Linked DNA regions of Homo sapiens: region 2 is linked to region 1. Evidence: promoter capture Hi-C in 16 types of primary human blood cells and fetal thymus (Javierre and others, 2016). All regions are on one chromosome and are shown on one strand. The core of a region is centred on a gene start or on the middle of the fragment in contact, and the rest is flanking DNA. Distances in the headings are between cores, read along the strand shown. Region 1 holds the start of DUSP19 (dual specificity phosphatase 19). Region 2 overlaps PDE1A (phosphodiesterase 1A).

What was found. The method cuts DNA at HindIII sites, captures the fragments that hold promoters and counts their contacts. A CHiCAGO score of 5 or more calls a contact.
Region 2: a contact is called between a fragment that was not itself captured here and the fragment with the promoter of DUSP19 in region 1, in 2 of 17 cell types (total B cells and total CD8 T cells). The highest score is 6.7, in total B cells.

What each region holds. Positions count from the first base shown.
Region 1 is chr2:183,077,232-183,080,683 of GRCh38, reverse strand. It overlaps DUSP19 (dual specificity phosphatase 19), which reads right to left and starts at 1,937. Exons shown (of 4, transcript NM_080876.4): 1 at 1,525-1,937. The coding sequence starts at 1,750. The HindIII fragment of the contact is 1,671 bases long and covers 1,283-2,953 here.
Region 2 is chr2:182,183,785-182,187,236 of GRCh38, reverse strand. PDE1A (phosphodiesterase 1A) reads left to right here. Exons shown (of 15, transcript NM_001363871.4): 12 at 649-769; 13 at 1,158-1,345. Among named protein-coding and RNA genes, the nearest start is that of PPP1R1C, 200 kb to the right of the region's middle. The HindIII fragment of the contact is 2,626 bases long and covers 421-3,046 here.

The DNA.
Region 1 (3,452 bases), core at 688-3,187:
TGGGTAAGTCCACAAATAATAGTAATAAGCAAAGTTCATGAAGACCCTAAATTGGTGAATGATATATGAAAATTCTACCATAATTATTCCAAGCCATGATTACTACAGTGGAAGCCAAAATAACTGAAAAATGTGCCAGGACGTATTTTCTTTCCTAGATATGGTGAGCAGGGCCTAGGTGAACTTTTCAGATTACCTAAATAACTCACTTTTTCACTGTAAATGTGACAAGAATATGGTACAGTTTTTCACGGGACTGTAGAAACTAGTTAGAGACATTTATTTGGTGAATTTAAAGACAGCCTATGTAACAATTCATATAATATTTAATAACTTATATGTACACTGCAATTGATTTGCATCAAAAACCTTTTACAACAACCTCAGGAGGATCCTATGACATAAGCAGATACTGTTACTTCATCTTTACAAATGGCTTTTTGGAGGACCAGAAAGGATAAATGGCTTGCACCAGCTAATCTAGTAAATTAGAGGCGGAGCAGGATTGAAAACTTGGTCTATGTGAGGCAGCCTAGTATAACAATGGACAGCAGGAGTCCATCAGACTTGGGCTTGATGCATACGTCTGTTATTTACCAGGTGTGTTACCTTGTGTAAATTACTTCACCAATTTTAAATCCTGGTTTCTATTTGTAAAACAAAGCTGATAATCCCTACTTCACAGGATTCCTCAAAGGAGTAAGACACTAGGTGAACAGCACCTGGGCTATTTCTCAGTCTTCTCTCTATTCAAGAATGCCTTAGCTGCATAGTGATAAGTCATTTAGTCTTTCCAAGTCTTAATTTCTCTATTCATAAATAGAAATAATTCAGACGTACTTGAAAACATTCTTGACTATTTTTTTAAGAACACCATACCATATTCTTGCCAAATTAACAAGTTTGCACTTTTATAACCTTGCTTCATTTGCTATTTGTGAACTATGCTTGTATAGGGGCTCAGTATTTCCATAATACGAAATAAATCATAAGATCTTAAGATCTCCTTCTCTTAAACACTCCAAAAACAGACACCATGAACAGACGTGGCCACAGGAGGCATGTATTCCGCACGGTCTGTAAGAGCTGCGCAGGCCAGCAAGCACAGGACTATTTCGAGTATTAACTTTTCTATAACTTTAACCATTGTCACTTGTAGTTCTGCCTGATACAAACATTCTTTTTTCATTCCTTTTTTTTCAAGCTGTATTTTTTATAAGCCAAGAAAACACAACATCAATGTGTTATTCTCCAGAGAAGTTAGAGAAACGGGAAGAAAGCTTTTCTAAAATTCAAATATGCAGTGCCAAGTGCTACGAGAATAGCATCTATGCTTCTTATGGGTACACTGTGAGGCAGAAACGGCTCTAGCTGGCTAATGGAAGTTCCATATCCAAAAAAGGAAACAGTTCAGCTTTTCGGCAGGATAGCTGATAATACAGACTATTACGCATAAAGGGGGAAAATGAGAACGTAATCTGGCTAAAAGGACTCAATGATCTAGTGGCAAGTCGATATACTCACCTAGGAGCAACCATGGCTTAATAACGCCAACTTGCAGGTCCGAGCTAAGGTCCTGCACATAACCACAACCACCCCCACTGCTCGGCTCTACTTCTTCCACAACATGAATTCTGGCATCTTTCCATGTTTCTATAATTTTCTTTCCAGTTAGCGTTGTCACCCTGGTGCATTGCTTCCTGAGATTATTCCGGGAGAATGCTTTAATTTCCTGGTTAAGGGAGTACATTACATGAGCAGTGGCTGGGAACAAATACAAACAAATCCAGCAGGCATAGAAAACGGCTGAACTGCTAGTCCCTTATTGCCCAGGTAACAAAGCCAGCCTCAGAGGTGCTCGCCCATCCAGGTAACCGCAGCAGCCACAGACCAAGAGACTGAGTCGTCCAGCTCCGTTTATCCCAGCGATGCAATGTAAGGCGAAATTTGATTGGTCATTGAGACACAAGTGCCGATTGGATGCTGTTTCTTCTTCCTGTCAGCCAGAAACCTGCATTTTCCCGAAAGGCTCGAGGGATCCACTGGGGAAGATTTCTTATTGTTGCTGTTTAAATTTAGCTTTCTAATACACGCAGAATGGTAAAATATAAGACTTCGTTGGAGAGAGGAATGATATGTCCTGGTTCTTTAAAGGCAGTGATTTTCTGATATATTCTGTTAGTGTCACTTACGGCAGTGACCATGGACGATCCGGGCTGACCTGTGTATCGCTCCCGCTTGAAAGAGACCGGCGGAGTCACCTTGCAAATCACCCTATGTCCCAAAGCCTTTCCTGCCTGTCTGCTTTTAGGCTAGTCCAGGAGGGCTAGAGCAGACGTTAAAAGTTATTTCTCGCTTCCTGTATCCTTCACACCTTCTGCTTTTGCTGTTAATGCAAGAGGAACGTTTACTAGATAAAGTTGTTGTGCGTATTTGTGAGGCAACAATTTAAATAAACTGGGAAAAAAGATATATTTTTTAAAATTTATGCTCATATATGTAGATTGACAAGAGCTTAAAATTTATTTATTTTCTGACTTTCAGCCTACATTTTCATTTCATACAGTAAATATACATCCTAAATAAGAATTGCAGCAAGTCCATCCATACGAAGAATTAAGAAAATCAATTGTGTAAGCATCCAAATTTGTAAAACAGATAAATAAATTATAGAACGATGATTCTGATTACCAAAAAAAAGTTTTGCAAAAGAAATCACAAGATTCCTTTAAAGAGAAATTTTTCAAACCCCTATTAAAGTAAATGTAATTTTAAATGAATTTCAACACAATGTATAAACACATATATAAAATGAAGAAGTTGCACTTATGAAAACTTTTCTTCCAATACCACATATTAAAATTTGTGTTGTTGTTGAAACTTTCTGACATAAAAAAATTCAACTGTTATGGATTGACTATTTCTGTCCCTTCAAAATGCATATGTTAAAGCTTTAAACCTCAAGGTGATGGTATTTAAATGGGACTTTTGGGATGTAATTTAGGATTAGACTAAGACCCTAGGGTAGGGTCCTCATGATGGGTTTAGTGGCTTCAGGAGAACTGAAAGAAATCTGCCTGCTCCCCTATATGGACCAAGGAAAGACAGTATGAGGACATAAGGAGAAGCTGGCTGTCTGCAAGCCAGGAAGAGAGCTTTCAGCAGGAACTGAATAGGCCAGCACCTTGATCTTGGACTTCTCAGCCTCCAGAACTGTAAGAAAATATATTTCGGTTGTTTAAGCAACAAAGTTTATGGCATTTTGTTAGAGCAGCCTGAGCAAACTGAGATATAAACCAAACTTCTCCCTCTTGAAAAAGGAATAGGCCCAGTACAGTGGCGCATGCCTGTAATTCCAGCACTTTGGGAGGCCAAAATGGGTGGATTGCTTGAGCCCAGGAGTTCGAGACCAGCCTGGGCAACATGATGAAACCCCAACTCCACTAAAAAAT
Region 2 (3,452 bases), core at 484-2,983, 890 kb after region 1:
TGGTGGGATTAATGCTGTCTCCCAGAGATGTTACTTTTCTCTTCACTGATTTGACAGAACACACACACATGCTGTGAACTAACACTTTACATCCAGAGAATAATAAACAACAATTTGAAATATTAACACACTGGCAGAAAGCTCTGACTGATATAGTAAGAAACAAAAAGTAATTGTCTTCCTGTTACCTGAGAAAAACCTTCAATTATTTAATTTCTTTGGAGCTTAGATATGATTTCTTGTTAGTAAAGAATAAAATCCAAAATGCACATGATGTGCTTTCAAAAAAGATAATGATCCCTGGTGTTGAGAGAGGAAACTATAGTCACTCTCATTGGATCTAAATGTATTGTTAGCAATCGTATATTATATAAGGCTGAATAGTAAATAGAAAAGCCAATATACTTGAGTTAGCAAGCTTAAATTGTGTCACTTCCATGGCTTCAAGTATTATTTTATAGAGCAGTTAAACCATCTCTAAAGACTGTTATTAGATTAAAACAATACAAAGGGTAAGCAGAACCAATATTTTAGTTGATTCTTGCTATCCCAGGATTGTCAGAAGCTCTTCATTATTTCTGATTTCAGAATTCAGGAAATTGTAACACTTGAATTTATCTCTCTCTCTTCTCATTTTGGCTTTTGTAGGTTTCATCGATTTCATAGTAGAGCCAACATTTTCTCTTCTGACAGACTCAACAGAGAAAATTGTTATTCCTCTTATAGAGGAAGCCTCAAAAGCCGAAACTTCTTCCTATGTGGCAAGCAGGTATGATATTTTCTTTTTTGCATTATTTTTCATCTTTGTGGTGTTTAGTAACACTTTCCTTAATGATTATATTTCTCACATCTAGGCAGAGAATTCTCACAAGAATTATTAGGGAGTATTGCCACCTAGTGGCTTTATATTATATTGCATCTGCCTTTGACAACTGAAGTTTAATACACAAAATATGAAATACTAAGTAAGGTGTGTACTAAGGAGAATCCAGTGTGGGGAGGGAGAGAAAGGAGATGAGCAGCTGCCACGTGCTCAGAACTGGGACTGAGCATCTACTATCCTGCTTTTCTAGTCGGTTTTGTAAAGTTTTTCAGGTTTTCCTTGTTCACCCCATATCCTGATGGTGTTTTTTGGTTTCTTTGGTTGTTACTGTTAGCTCAACCACCATTGTGGGGTTACACATTGCTGATGCACTAAGACGATCAAATACAAAAGGCTCCATGAGTGATGGGTCCTATTCCCCAGACTACTCCCTTGCAGCAGTGGACCTGAAGAGTTTCAAGAACAACCTGGTGGACATCATTCAGCAGAACAAAGAGAGGTGGAAAGAGTTAGCTGCACAAGGTAGTGTTGTTTATGAGGCCTTACTGCCATCTCTCTCTGTCTTCACTTCTCCTCTAAGAGTTTGGATTACTTCTTCTAGATTTCTTCTTCTATAGAATATGTAAGCCCTTGATGGTATTGGGAATTTGGCTACTCTTTGATCATTCATGAGAAAGTTGGCTCATTTATTAGATAAAAAGAGGTTCTGGTTTGTTTGTGCCACATGGGCTGCAGATCTGTGTGTCAGTGGGTGCTGGCAAACTGGATACTGAAAGATGAGATAATGAAATGGTGACAAAACTTTGTGGTACCATATAAACTCCTGTGCTTTCGTAGAGGTGCTTTCCAGCCTGGATTTTACTTGGTAAGTGGCTTTTGTGTTGCATTAAGTGTGTTATCACTTCATGTCAGAGACTTGGGTGTGTTTTTTTTCTGTTTCACTAAGTTGCTTTTTTGACTCAGAATTTAGACAGGAATTGGGGAAATCATTAGTAATCAACCACCACAGCAATCGCATGGGAAGGTAGCTACAGTTATTTCTGACATATTAGCTGCTTCAAATTAATTAGTCCATTTAGTAGGTTTGTGAGTTAGTATTCAAACAGTTATTATCTTTCGTGCAGGAATTAGCTTTCATATCCAGATCTGGCCCCTGCCTCTTCTCACACTCATTCCCACAGCTCTGTCTCCCTTATACACTACACTCCCTGCACAATGGCCTCTTGGAAGTTTCTTAAAATACTCCAGGGTCTTTGTAGTTATTTTTTCAGCCAGAAATTTTTTCCTTGTGTTTTTTGCAGCTTTAATATACTCAGGAATAAACTTACTTTTCTTAAAATGGATAATATAAGATCAAAATAGAGTGTTAAATCATATTTATAGTCAGAAAGACACAATATTGAAACGTTTTCAATTATCCCAAATGTCAACCATAAATATAACATGTTTCCAGTGAAAATTCCAATACATTTTTCATGGAATTTAAGAAATTGATCCTAAAATCTATATGGTATTGCAAATACCTAAGAATACTCAAGACACTCCTGAAGGATAATAAAGTGGGAGCACTTGCCATATATCAAAATTTACTCTTATACTGAAGTAATAAATTTAGTGTGGCTGTGATATAGAGATAATAAGATGGGCCTTGGGAATAGACCAGAGAGCCAAAAATAGCACATTAATTCCTGCAGAACTTGACAGATGGCAGACACACACATTCGTATATGCAATCTTTTGTATGTTCTCACATATTTACCCTTATGATATTCTTCATTTCTTCTTGTGTGTCAGAGCTACTATTTGGTATCATTTCTCTTCACACTGGAGTACTTTCTCAAGTATTTTCTTATAACACAGTTATACTGACAAACAATTAGATTTTCTTTATCTGGGAATGTCTGTATCTTACTTTTATTTATGAATAATTTTACTTGATTTAGAATTGTTGAATGATTTTTTTTTATTTTAGCACTTTTAATGTGTAATTCTATTGCCTCTGGCTTCCATAGTTTCTGATAGTGTTGGCCAAAAATAAATTGTATTGTTGCTTCCTTGTATGTACTGAGTATTATCTTTTTCTTTCTGTTTTCTAGACTTTATTTTGACTTTCAGCAATTTGATGATGATATATCTAGGTCTTTTTTTTTTTCAGTATTCTACTTAGTGTTCACTAGCTTCTTAAATCCACAAATTAATAATTTGCTTCAAATTTAGAAAGCTTTCTGTCATTTTGTTCAATATTTTTCTTCTGCCTCTTTCTCTCTGTTCTCTCCTTCTGAGGATTGTGTTATGCATAACTTAGGATTCTGGAAATTGTCCTGGATGCTCTGGATCTCTGTCAATTTCTTTAATTGTTCTTTCTTTCTTTCTTTCTTTCTTTCTTTCTTTCTTTCTTTCTTTCTTCTCTTCCTTTCCTTCCTTCTTTTGTTCCTTCCTTCCTTCTTCATTCATTTTTGATTGGCTGCTTTCTAATGATTTATCTTCAAGTTTACTGTTTCTTTCTCTGCCACCTCAATCCTGCTGTTGATTTCACTGAATTAACTTTTTATCTCAGCTACTTTTTTCAATTTTATTATTTCCATTTGGTTCTTTTTTATAATGTCTATTTCTCTGTTGATATTTTATA